Regions from separate parts of the Homo sapiens genome. Here region 2 is linked to region 1. The links are contacts of gene promoters, found by promoter capture Hi-C in blood cells and fetal thymus (Javierre and others, 2016). All regions are on one chromosome and are shown on one strand. Each heading gives the region's core, a stretch centred on a gene start or on the middle of the fragment in contact. The rest is flanking DNA. Distances are from core to core; before and after follow the strand shown. Region 1 holds the start of XRCC5 (X-ray repair cross complementing 5). Region 2 overlaps SMARCAL1 (SNF2 related chromatin remodeling annealing helicase 1).

What was found. The method cuts DNA at HindIII sites, captures the fragments that hold promoters and counts their contacts. A CHiCAGO score of 5 or more calls a contact.
Region 2: a fragment that was not itself captured here is called in contact with the fragment with the promoter of XRCC5 in region 1 in 7 of 17 cell types (activated CD4 T cells, total CD4 T cells, neutrophils and 4 more); the score reaches 7.6 in activated CD4 T cells.

Annotation. Positions count from the first base shown.
Region 1 is chr2:216,106,230-216,112,283 of GRCh38, reverse strand. XRCC5 (X-ray repair cross complementing 5) reads right to left here and starts at 2,936. Exons shown (of 21, transcript NM_021141.4): 1 at 2,827-2,936. The coding sequence starts at 2,847. RefSeq lists an enhancer at 2,591-3,212. The HindIII fragment of the contact is 16,954 bases long and covers 1-6,054 here.
Region 2 is chr2:216,477,918-216,484,044 of GRCh38, reverse strand. SMARCAL1 (SNF2 related chromatin remodeling annealing helicase 1) reads right to left here. Exons shown (of 18, transcript NM_014140.4): 17 at 5,746-5,842; 18 at 992-1,307. The coding sequence ends at 1,068. It overlaps RPL37A-DT (RPL37A divergent transcript), which reads left to right. Exons shown (of 4, transcript NR_183317.1): 4 at 109-588. Among named protein-coding and RNA genes, the nearest start is that of RPL37A-DT, 18 kb to the left of the region's middle. The HindIII fragment of the contact is 613 bases long and covers 4,353-4,965 here.

The DNA.
Region 1 (6,054 bases), core at 1,687-4,186:
AGTAGGAGTCAATCATGTGAACAAGTAAGTGACAGACGGAATCACATAAGCTAAGGCACAAGCCATTACATAGCAATCACGTATGTAGGAGACTAAGAAAATAAGAGAAACATAACCTAAAAGGAATACATGTAAAGTTATTTATACCTGGCTTCCAAATTTTACCTGAACACAAGCTGGAAGAGACCTGGATTGATGGCAACTCACAATTTCAGTGTGAATTATAAAATCAATCAACAACGTGAAATGTCTTTTGCACCACATTCCCCACACCTATCTTACTTCATCGCCTAAATATGTTGGTCTGTATCAACAGTGTAGTGAATTCAAGAAGAGAAAAGAAGGGTCTTCTGGTGAAAAAAGATAATAGCAATCGGGAGACCTGGGATCTAGTCCCATCTCTCCTACCCATTAGTTCTGAGTCCTTGGGAATGTCACTTAATCTCACTGTTAATAATACTAAAAGGTAGGAAACTGTTGGACTAGATGAGGTTTAAGGTCCTTTCTGGAGTTCACATTCCTTGACTCTGACTGATAGTCTCGCAGTGCTTTGTACCGATCAAACAAACTGTGAGCAGTTCTGGGCTAACATCTTACCAGGAAAATTAATTACAAATGAACATGAAATGAGCAGCTTAGGGAAGAATCTGAAGAATACATGATGTAAAGAACAGTTGGAAATAACTAGATATTTAAGTCAGATGAGAAGATTAAAGGGAACATAACAGTTTTCCTCCCCACCATTTTTTTTTCCTTTTTTTTGAGACATGGTCTCACTGTCACCCAGGCTGGAGTACAGTGGCATGATCATGGCTCACTACTGCCTCCATCTCCCGGGCTCAAGTGATCCCGCTACCTCAGCCTTCCAAATAGCTGGGACCACAGTTGCACCCCACCATGCCCAGCTAATTCTTAAATTTTTTTTGTAGAGTTGGGGTCTCACTGTGTTGCCCAGGCTGGTCTCAAACTCCTTGGCTTAAGCAATCCTCCCACCTCCGCCTCCCAAAGTGCTAGGATTACAGGTATAGGCCACCGTGTCTGGCCTCCCCCCAGATATTTGACAACTGTTGTATAAAAGGATTGGTCTGCCAAGAAAGACAACGGGATCAACAGATGGAAGTTACAGGGAGACTGATGCGACTCCATACGAGGGATAAAAAATAACATTTAGAAGTGATCAATAAAGAAACTACTCTTTTTTAAGTGATCTCTTGACCCTAGAAATGTTTTAAAAACCTGAATGAATTCCTATCAGGGAAGTTATAGATGATTTCTAAATGTGGTTATATCTCAGGCAACACATGAAAAGAAAAGATTATTTTTCACTAGTTTACAAACAACACAATGCACTAAGAGATTTCTGAAGTAAAATTAGATTATTTGAAAAAAAAAACGTGCTAATAAACCACAAAATTCCTTTGAGAACAGTAAAATGCACATCCCAGTTTCAATGCCTGGGGCATGATAACCTAAAAAAACTTAAGAGTCACAAAATATGCTGCTGCACTTATTTGATACACACCCACAAAAGCTACTTTTAAACCAGAAAACTCTAGAGGACTAAAGCACTTTTGTCATGAATTAGGTATCCAGTAAGTGCCATCAAAGGGTTTCAAATATGGAACTTATTGTCTGGAAGCAGAATGGTCTATATTTCTGAGTTCCTATCTGGCAGCAGTAAGAAAACTGAGAAAGAGAAACCGGGTAGCATAGCAACTCTTCATTTCTATACCGAAGCAATACAGGCTGTTAGAATTTTACTTCCAGTTCATCTGCAACAAACAGCTCCTCCACTAGAGCTACAAAGTTTTCAGCAGCTGAAAGAGGACGAAAAAAGGAGGTGAGTGGCATTATTAAAAGTTCATGATCGTTTTAATCAACATTTCTCAATGAGGAGTTGAGGGAACTAGGGATCAGTTGCTCAAACTCGTATCTTGTTTATCTGTATTGAATAAATTCATTAATCCCTGGAACCACATCTCCCTCTAGTGACCCTTCAGAGACAACTACCACTCTTTTATGTTGAAAAAAAAAAATCACTTTAAAATTCATTGTAATTTCTGTTACTGATCTGGGACACCAATGGTCATAGATTTCTAGCAACACAGGGGTTCTCCAGGGCCCTGAAACCAGACAGCTTGGATTCAAATCCGGATTTCACCAGGAAAAGCCCACAGTTCTTTATTCCTCGGTTTTCCCACTTGCAAAATGGGGATAAATAGTTTTCACTTCAAGGGGTTGTGAAGATTAAATGAGATAAGAATAAAAGGTTTAGATCCGTCCCTCACAGAGTGGGCTTTCAATAAATGCGGGATACTACGTTATTATAAAGCTAATAATACGACGCTTTACAGTTTAAGTTATTTTAGTCACAGATAGTCCCTCTCTTAAGTTTTACAACAAGCCCTGTGGGATAGTTGCTTTATCACAGCTAATTTTCATTCTCATAGAGATCTTAAGAACCCAGGCTCGGAAGTAATAGAGGAAGTGGGGCTAGGGAGTGGAATGGGATAAAGAGAGAGAGAGGGGAGGCGGGTGGGGAGGCAGGTGAGACAAAGAGCAGGTAGAGAGGGAGAAGAGGGATGGGATGGGTGGGTAATGGAAGAGGTGGAGTCAGCGAGGCTCAAATTCAGGTCTTGGAGCCCCAAATCTCCAGCTTTTCTCATAGCGCATCCCTCGGTCCCGGCCCTCCTGACTGAGCCCACCACCATGATCTTCTCTTGCCCCATTCTTTGTCTTGACCGCGATCCCACGATTCCTGCTTCCGAACCACCCTCTCCGGATCCCCAGTCCGGGTAAAGCCCAAGTCCATGGCTTTCTTTATACCTTATTCCCCGACCGCACCATGTTGCCGGTCCTCAGGCGCTTTGGTCGCTTCTTCCGGGCGGGAACCTGCCGTGTCGCAACTCGCTTCCGGTGGACAAGCGGCAGATAGCGGAAAGAGCCGCTTCGTTTCCTGCTAGGCCTGAAAGGGGCGGGGAAACCGTGCCCCGGAACTCTGAGCATGCGCAGATTCCCGCCGAGCTTGCGCAGATTCCCGCCGAGCTCGCGCAGATTCCGGCCGAGCATGCGCAGATTCTCTCCGAGCATGCGCAGATTCCCGCCGAGCATGCGCAGATTCCCGCCGAGCATGCGCACATTCTCTCCATTCCGCCGTAGTCGGGAGCGTGTGGTGTTTGAGCCGCCTGAAACGCTAGTACGACAGATTTACTTAAAGATTCACTTAATCACTTAAAGATTCACGTCCCTTTTCTCTCATTGAGAATAACACCTAAGGCATTTTGTGTCAGAGCTCTGGAGTTAGATTTCTTTTCTTTTTTTTACTTTTTTAAAAAATCTTTTTTCCTTTAATTTCATTTTTTCATTTATTTTTTATAACTTTTGATTTTTTTTTTTCTCATCACTTGTGGGTTTTTTTCTACTTTTTATTTTTGGTTATTGTGGAGTTAGATTTTCTTGAGTATGAGTATGAATGCAGAAAGTCACTTAACTTCTCTAAAAGACTCAGTTTCTTCTAAAAAGTGATAATGAAACACTTCACCGATGTGATAACCTTAGAGCCAACTGGGGAAGAAGAGTAGGACGTCCCCAGGAGCACAAAAGTAGAAGGGAGATTCTACTCTGCAGAGAAAATGGGATGCACAAACGCCTGGAGGCATGAGACTTTATCTGCTAAGGCTCTCCCAGTAGTTAGCAGTGGCTCCAGCTTGGAAGGGAGGAGTCAAGGTTTAATTTAGAAGACAAGTCTAGGGAGATATAGAAATAGCAGCTGTCATCACAGTGCTTTACTTGATCACGAGCCCTTTGTCCAGCCCGCATCCCCTACCCCTTTGAGGGAGGCAGGCCCAAGCAGTACCTTGCATAGAAATGACTGCTTTCTATACCATATGACCCCCAGCTGACAGGTGGCTGGACGAAGGGTCTGGCAACCTGCAAAGTGTCTGCAAACCTCTGCCCAAACTGAGAAAATCAAGTCCAATCAATATTCTCTCCTGCTTGAAAATTGTTTCTGGGAAAAGCAAGAATTGAAGCTGAAAAGATGTGGAGAATCTATGAGCCAAAATTATAAATACATTGAAGCCTCTAGAATGTAGAGTCAGACATATTCAGAGGTGCTCATAGAGCCCAGGAGGTTCTTCCAGCTTTTGATTCAAACTCAAGGAGTTACTTAAAAGCTGAAATATTATTTTTAATAATACTTTAAAGGAACAGCAGCGCCCTGGCCGCTCAGCTTTGCGCGGGCTGCAGCAGGCAGGCAGGCAGGCACGGACACTCGCCCTTCCCTGCGGGTAAGATTTCCAAGAGAAAGATCAGCTCGGCAGAAGGGGCGGGGAAGATCTGTGAGGTTGTCAGCTAAATCTCCTCCAGCAAAGGTGGAAACGAAGCCCAGCGGAGGCAGCAGGACAGCATAAATTTTCAGACAAAGAAGCAAACAAGGAAAAATGGGAGCAAAGGGCAAACAGGCCAAGTGGCTATCCGGGAAACAAAAGATTTATCTGTGGAAAGCGGAGAAACTGAAACAAGGAGAGTCCAGCCTCTGGTGAAGCAGGACAGAAAGAAGCCAAATCTGATTAGTATCACATACCATATCTTGTCAGTGGTCCTTGTCTCCCTTCTTGTACGATCCAGAGCTAGAGAGAGAGAGAAAAGGAAAGAAACAGACAGGGTGTCGCTCGGCCGAGGCTGGAGTCCAGTAGCACAATCATAGCTCTCTGCACCCTGGAACCCCTGGGCTCAAGCGATTCACTTACCTCAGCCTCCCAGGTAGCTGGGACCACAGGTGTGTGCCACCAAGCCCAGCTAATTTTTGTGGGGTTTCTGTGTGTGTGTGGAGGCGGGGTCTTCCTATGTTGCCCAGCCTGGTCTTGAACTCCTGGGATCAAGCGATCCTCCCGCTTCAGCCTCCCAAAGTGCTGGGATGACAGGTGTGAGCAACTGCACTTGGCCTCAGAGGAATATTTTTATCAACTATTTTGATAAGGAATATTTTTATCAACTATTTTTAAATGCAAGTTTTTTAGTAGCTGTAGAAACTTTTTTTTTTTTTTTTTTTTTTGAGACAGAGTTTCCCTCTTGTTGCCCAGGCTGGAGTGTAGTGGCGCGAATTCTGCTTACGGCAACCTCCGCCTGCCGGGTTCAAGCGATTCTCCTGCTTCAGCCTCCCAAGTAGCTGGGATTACAGGCATGTGCCACCACACCCAGCTAATTTTGTATTTTTAGTAGAGATGGGGTTTCTCCATCTTGGTCAGGCTGGTCTCGAACTCCCGACCTCAGGTAATCCGCCCACCTTGACCTCCCAAAGTACTGGGATTACAGGCGTGAGCCTGTGCCTGGCTGAAACATTTTTAGGAAGGAGGGAATCCCACTTTATCCCATTTTTAAAGTGTAGCTTTTAAAAGGTGAAATAATTCACTTGTTTGTTGTTTGGTACAACCAGGAAACACTGAAATAGTGAATAATGGGAGGCTTTCACTGTCTTCGAAGTCAGTTTAACATTCCCTAGGGAGAGGGTATTTTATTTCCTACAGTACAGCGCATACTAAATGGCAATATAGAGCCACAGTCATGCATTTAATGTGTCTTGAAAATTTTAAATTACTTTTATTTTCATGGGTTTTTTTAGTAGAATTGTTTCCTGAAGAAAACCACTCCTTGGTCACGTTGCTATCCGTGTCAAAATTGTGTGCAGTCTGTAACATCTTTGGTTGTGCTAGTCCCATTTTCCTGATAACTTTGTTAATGTGCTTTGAAAGACTGAAAATTTGAGTGGGTAGAGTATATGATATTAAATTGTGAATTGGTGGGACTTATGTAACAACTTATCAGCATGTGGAGATAATGTACCCTGATACCCTCTTTTTTTTTGAGAACAGTCTCACTCTGCGCCCAGGCTGGAGTGCAGTGGCACGATCTCGGCTCACTACAAACCTCCGCCGCTCCCACCCGCCACCAGGCTCAAGCGATTTTCCTGCGTCAGCCTACCAAGTAGCTGGGATTATAGGCACCCACCACTGTGCCGGCTAATTTTTGTATTTTTAGTAGAGACGGGATTTT
Region 2 (6,127 bases), core at 3,410-5,909, 370 kb before region 1:
ATCTAAAATTTCCCATTAATAATTTTTAAATATTGTTTGTAAATTGAAATAATATATTTAATATATTGGGTTAAATGCATTATTAATCTTTTCTTTTTTTTTTTTGAGACGGAGTTTCGCTCTTGGCTGGAGTGCAATGTCGCAATCTGGGCTCACCACAACCTCCACCTCCCGGGTTCAAGTGATTCTCCTGCCTCAGCCTCCCAAGTAGCTGGGATTACAGGCATGCACCACCATACCAGACTAATTTTGTAATTTTAGTAGAAACGGGGTTTTTCCATGTTGGTCAGGCTGGTCCTGAACTCCCGACCTCGGGTGATCCTCCCACCTCAGCCTCCCTATATTATTAATCTTAAGTCTAAATGTTCTATTAGAAAAGTTACAATCACATATGCAGCTTGCATTACATTGCTAATGGAACACGCTGCTCTAAACCAGGGATTGGCAAACTATGGGCAGTGGACAACTTCCAGCCCACTGTCTGTTTCTGTACAGCTGGTAAACAAGGAATGGTTTTCACATTTTTAAATGGCAGAAAAAAAATAATTTGTGATACGTGAACATTAATAAAATTCAAATTTCAGTGTCCATGAAGAGTTATATTGGAAAAGAGAACCTACAACCATTGCCTCTCCCGCTGCGTAAGTTCGGCAAAGGCTCACGCTTTTGTCTTTTGTTGGATGAATGACTACCAACACCTAGGACAGTGCCTGCACAAATTAGGTGCCCTATAAATATTTGTTGAGTCACTAAATTTTAAAATTCTAGATTATGGGGACTGTGTAGGAAGGACCTCATTCTTTAGAGAACATGAATTACCCACTACTACAACTCGCTGTGTCCATCCCTAAGCCAGAAGAGCGGAGGTTAAGACCCCAAGCAAGCCCACACGTAATGACACAGGAATGGAAAGCTGATGCTCGGCCTGGTCTCCTGCTGAGCCTGGACACAGGCATAGGCACTGCTGCAATGGCAAGAGAAGCTCAAAAAGTTTTAAAACAAAATACATTATTTTATTTCAATTCCATGATTTTAAAATGCTTTTTATTTTTTTCTTTTTGCCCCTTTTACAGGGGAGACGTAAAGCTGTCCCAGTTATCAAAAAATTCAAATCTCCTTTTCTTCTGTGGACTGGCTGTCAATGAGCTTTCATCCAGGGTGTCTCCCATGTTCTGGGAACTACTTCCAGATGTTCCTGAAGCACTTCCTGGGTCAAAGGACTCTGCTGCTTCCAGGAGCTCCATATCACTTCCTTCTTTCTCAAAGGACTTCTGGAATAGGTCGTAGATCTTCTGCTGCTTTGGGTCCTTCATCAGAGAAAGAAAACAAAAGATAAAAGGAAGAGCCCAGGCTCCAACACTGACTCTCCTCCACTAGGGCTGATGAGAGAATATAAAGATGAGAGACCACACATTTCATGGTGTCAGGGAGCTACACGATGGCAAGTGTGCATCATCTCAGCAAACCATCACTAAAGCAGCCTCACTGTTTTAGTGTCTGACATCTTACCCTCTCTGTGCTCATTGAGTTAGGAAAAAGAAATGGTTGTGAGTGCAACAAAGAAGCTGCTCTCACGCTATAATTTACATTGGAAATGTTTTCTCCCTTTGAACTTTCCAAATCATTATTTCAATACTGAAATAGCACCCAAGATCTCACTTCCTCCAAAGCCTTTCTCTACTAAGGGTCAGTTAAGGTATAATTCAACTTCTAAATCTCTATTTTTAAATTTATTTTTATTTTTATAATTTTTTAAGAGATGGGATCTCACTAAATGTTGCCCAGGCTGGTCTCGAACTCCTGAGCTCAAATGATCTGCCCACCTCAGCTACCCAAAATGTTGGGATTACAGGTGTGAGCCACCATGTGCCCAGCCCCCCAACTTCCAAATCTCTGTGTTCAGCCATGGCTTATACCTAATTTTCAAAGTAGTTGAAAAAACATACACACATTTAACATATTCATAAGTAGATATGTGTACCTATTCTGATTACCTTAAATTACAAATAATCAAAATACCCACCAACTGCATCTATACATTGATGACAATGGTGTAGTGTTAAAACCATGCCCAGTGGATACAACCACAACACACGATCACTATCACCCCTCTGCCGATTTTTCCTACATCTAAATTTCCAACTTTGACCATTTTTCAATTTAGAGGTATATTTTCCATATCTCCACTGACATCCCACAGTTTCATAAAACTAAACTGGTTTAAAATCAAATGATCTTTTGGCTGGGCTCAGTGGCTCTCACCTGTAATCCCAGCACTTTAGGAGGCCGAGGCGGATGGATCGCCTGAGGTCAGGAGTTCGAGACCAGCCTGGCCAACGTGGTGAAACCCCATCTCTACTAAAAATACAAAAAATTAGCCAGACATGGTGGTGCGTGCCTGTAGTCCCAGCTATTTGGGAGGCTGAGGCACAAGAATCGCTTGAACCCACAAGGCAGAGGTTGCAGTGAGCCATCATCACGCCACTGCACTCCAGCCTGGGTGACAGAGTGAGACTCTGTCTCAAAAAAAAAATAAATACATAAAAATAAGGCTGCTGCAAGGGCTCACGCCTGTAATCCCAGCACTTTGGGAGGCCGAGGCGGGGGGATCATCTAAGCTCAGGAATTAGAGACCAGCCTGGGCAACATGGCAAAACCCCATCTCTATCAAAAATACAGAAAATTGGCCGGGTGTTGGCAGCATGCGCCTGTAGTTCCAGCTACTCGGGAGGCTGAGATGGGGGGAATCACTTGAGCCTGGGAGGCGGAGGTTGCAGTGAGCCAGCATAGTGCCACTGTACTCCAGCCTGGGTGACAGAGTGAGACCCTGTCTCTAAATAAATAAATAAATAAATAAATATAAAAAATCAAATGATCTCTCATCTCCTATATTCTCAAAGCAGCTTCTCTTCCCATAAGTCTAGTTTTTATAGTCTACCTGCATTCTCGTAGTCTCCCAGGTGGAAATCATCCAGGCAAACAGAGTCCTCGGCTTATGCAAGTTTGTTCCCCCCATTAGTTCCCTCCTCTCTCCTTCAGGCACCATCTTTACTTGGGCCACATCACTTGGTACTGCATGGATTTGCAACAGCTCAACTGCGCTTCCTGCCTCAGGCTTCTTCCCATTTCAAACAGCCTACAGATCTTTGCCAGCTGATTTTTACCCCCAGGCTCTCCTTTAAAGATTTTTTTGGTCATGTCTTTGGGCTCCGCTGTCCCTACCTCATCAAGTCTACAGTTGCTCCCCTGGCTTTTCAGGCCTTTATAGAATTAGGTCTCAACGTACCTGGCCACTGTTCCTCACTATTCCTTAACCAAATCCCTCCACATTGGTGAAGTAGAGTTCCTTGAAAATTGATCATGACAGCCTGTCATGTAAGAACTCCAGATTATTCAATTAACCTGCACCCGAAATCTCCTAGCCTTTCAGGATCCCAGCCTTGCAGAGAGGGAAATGATATGAAAGATCATCAAGGCTGACCCCCAAATAACCCACATGTCCTCCTCCAGGATGCCCTCATCAGCCTCTTTCTGAATGACTGCAATGTCAAGGAAACGCCACCCTGCAAGGCAGCCTATTCCAAGTAGAAAAAGCTGCTAATGTGCATTTGATTATGATGATGGCAACACTGTATGCTGACTCGGGGCATGCATAATTAATTGGAAGCGAGTTCCAAGATCAGATTAATATTTCATTTCCCCTCTCAGAAGGAAGGCTATCTCAGTGAGATATAACCTCTTCTGCTTTTGTCTCCTATATTGGAAGCAACATTTTCTTTTTCTAGTAGTTGATAAAATTTTCAGCCCCATCTTAATTAAAAAATAAATTGATATAGTTATTGATCAAAATATTGATAAAACTCATTTATATTACCTTGTACTTATATTTTAGGTAGAAATGCTTAACCAATTTAGAGTAAGAGAAAGGCAAGGAGGAATAAATGAGTTCAAGTGAGAATCCTTTAAAAATAGGCTTTCTTTTTTTTCTTTTTTGAGACAAGGTCTGTCTCTGTTGCCTAGGCTGAAATGCAGTGGTGTGATCTTGGCCCACTGCAACCTCTGCCTCCCAGGTTCAGGGAATCCTCCTGCCTCAGTCTCCTGAGTAGCTGGGAATACAGGCATGTGCCATCATGCCTGGCTAATTTTTGTATTTTTTGTAGAGATGGGGGTTTCACCATGTTGCCCAGGCTGGTCTCAAACTCCTGGGCTCAAGTCATCTGTCCGCCTCAGTGTGGGATTAGAGGCTTGAGCCACTATGCCTGCTCAGACTATTTCTTTTCAAAAGGCTTGTAATAACCTAGGCTCTGTTACCATTTACCATTCAGCTGAACTGGAGAGTTCTTTAAAAAGCTTAAAAATAAGGTTGTTTTAAAATTGGCTTATTAACTATATATGTCTGAAAGGATAATTTGCAGTCTGCATTTAAAAATATGATCTGAGTCTTATTTATCCCAATATTTAGCAAATAAATCCTTGCAAAGAAAGAATTTATTTGCTAAATAAATGTAAGTGAATGAGCAGATCCACAGAGTCTTAAGTCTTGGTGTCAACGATAAGATTTAACTCAACTTCTTATTTATTTAAACTTTTTTCTTTCTCTTTTTTTTTTTTTGAGGCAGGCTCTTGCTCTGTTGCCCAGTTTAGAGTACAGTGACCATCATGGCTAACTACAGCCTTGACCTCCTAGGCTCAAGTGATCCTCACCTTTTCCTCTGGAGTAGCTGGGACTACAGGTGTGCACCACCATGTGTGGCCTAACTCAATATTCTGATGGTGATTTCACAGGAAGGAGGAGGTGCTTCACTTTCCTGATAAGCTACCGTAAGGCCCCTTTCTGCATGAGGCTCAGACCTGGTTCAAACTCTCCTGGCAGAAACAATTCAACCATGAGCTGTGCTCGAGGAGGGCATACTCCTGGTTTTCACCTTCTGGCCAACAATCCAAGCTGGGGAAGGAAAACAAGCTTTTGGAAGGCTCTGGGTCTCTTGCTCACTCCACTGTGTTTCACTGAAATGGGGGAGGAAGAGTCTGTGGCAGCCACTGGGCTGCAGCACTGAAACCAGGCAGGCATGATGGGCCCAGGGCTGTCCTGTTCAGAGGCAACAGCCTTCCCCCTCAGCACCTTTGACAAGGCCTGCCTGGTCATGGAGGGATGCCTCTTATACTCCTTTACAACAAGGGCTGAGCTCAAAGGAGGAATGCTGGGCCAAGTCAGGAAGCCTTCTTCCTTGGGCTGGCTTCACATGCCCTGTGACTTTGTGCAAACCTACTATACTGCCATGTCTCAGTTTACCCCTCTATCAAGTGGGGAGACACTGAGAATAAATAAAATGACAGAAGGGAAAATATATTCTATGAAGCCAGTACCCTATTTTAAACACTCCCCATTCTGTGCTGGGGATGCATTCCTGTGGCAGCCCTATGTGTGGTGTTGCTGTGTACTTTTTGAAACAATTCAACATTTGCCATGGGGAGTTTTGTCAGTTTCTAATGGCCTGCTGGAAGAGGCAGCATTCAGAGCCTGTGCGGGAATGTCAGCAGCTGTAGGAGCTAATGCCATCATTTCCCCATAAAGCGATGCATGCATGGTTCAACTGAGAATGACTGCAGGCCATTGTTTTCAGCTCTAGGCTGGGGGAGGTCCCTAGGAGTGATTCACATCCTCCTACTCAGGACCCAAAGACTTGGCAGACAGCTTAATGCCTCCCTCTGCTCCAGGGGTGAAGAGCCATGTGCTGGCATTACCTTGTAGAGGTAATCAGTGGATTCTGTCATTTCTGAAAAATTGGTCTCAGAAAGCCCGGCTTCTGCCAGAACTTTAATCTTCTCTTGAATCAGGGGCCTGTTGGGGAGAAATGAGCTGCAGTGAATACAACCTGCACAGAACCACCAGACTAATGAAAATGAGGCCACCCTCCTTGTTCTTATGGGACAACGGCTTGTTTACGGTTTCACATCTCTGCATCTCTCAAGGTGCAAACACCCATCTTGAAAAATTTGCCCCCTCTCATTTGTAAAAACTCCAATTTAGGGCTAAGAATATCATCAGGTTCAATATTCTTTCTAATGGAAGATGTGTAGGAAATAAATGCTGCCTCATTTCAACACAATTTTGAATCTGGTGGTA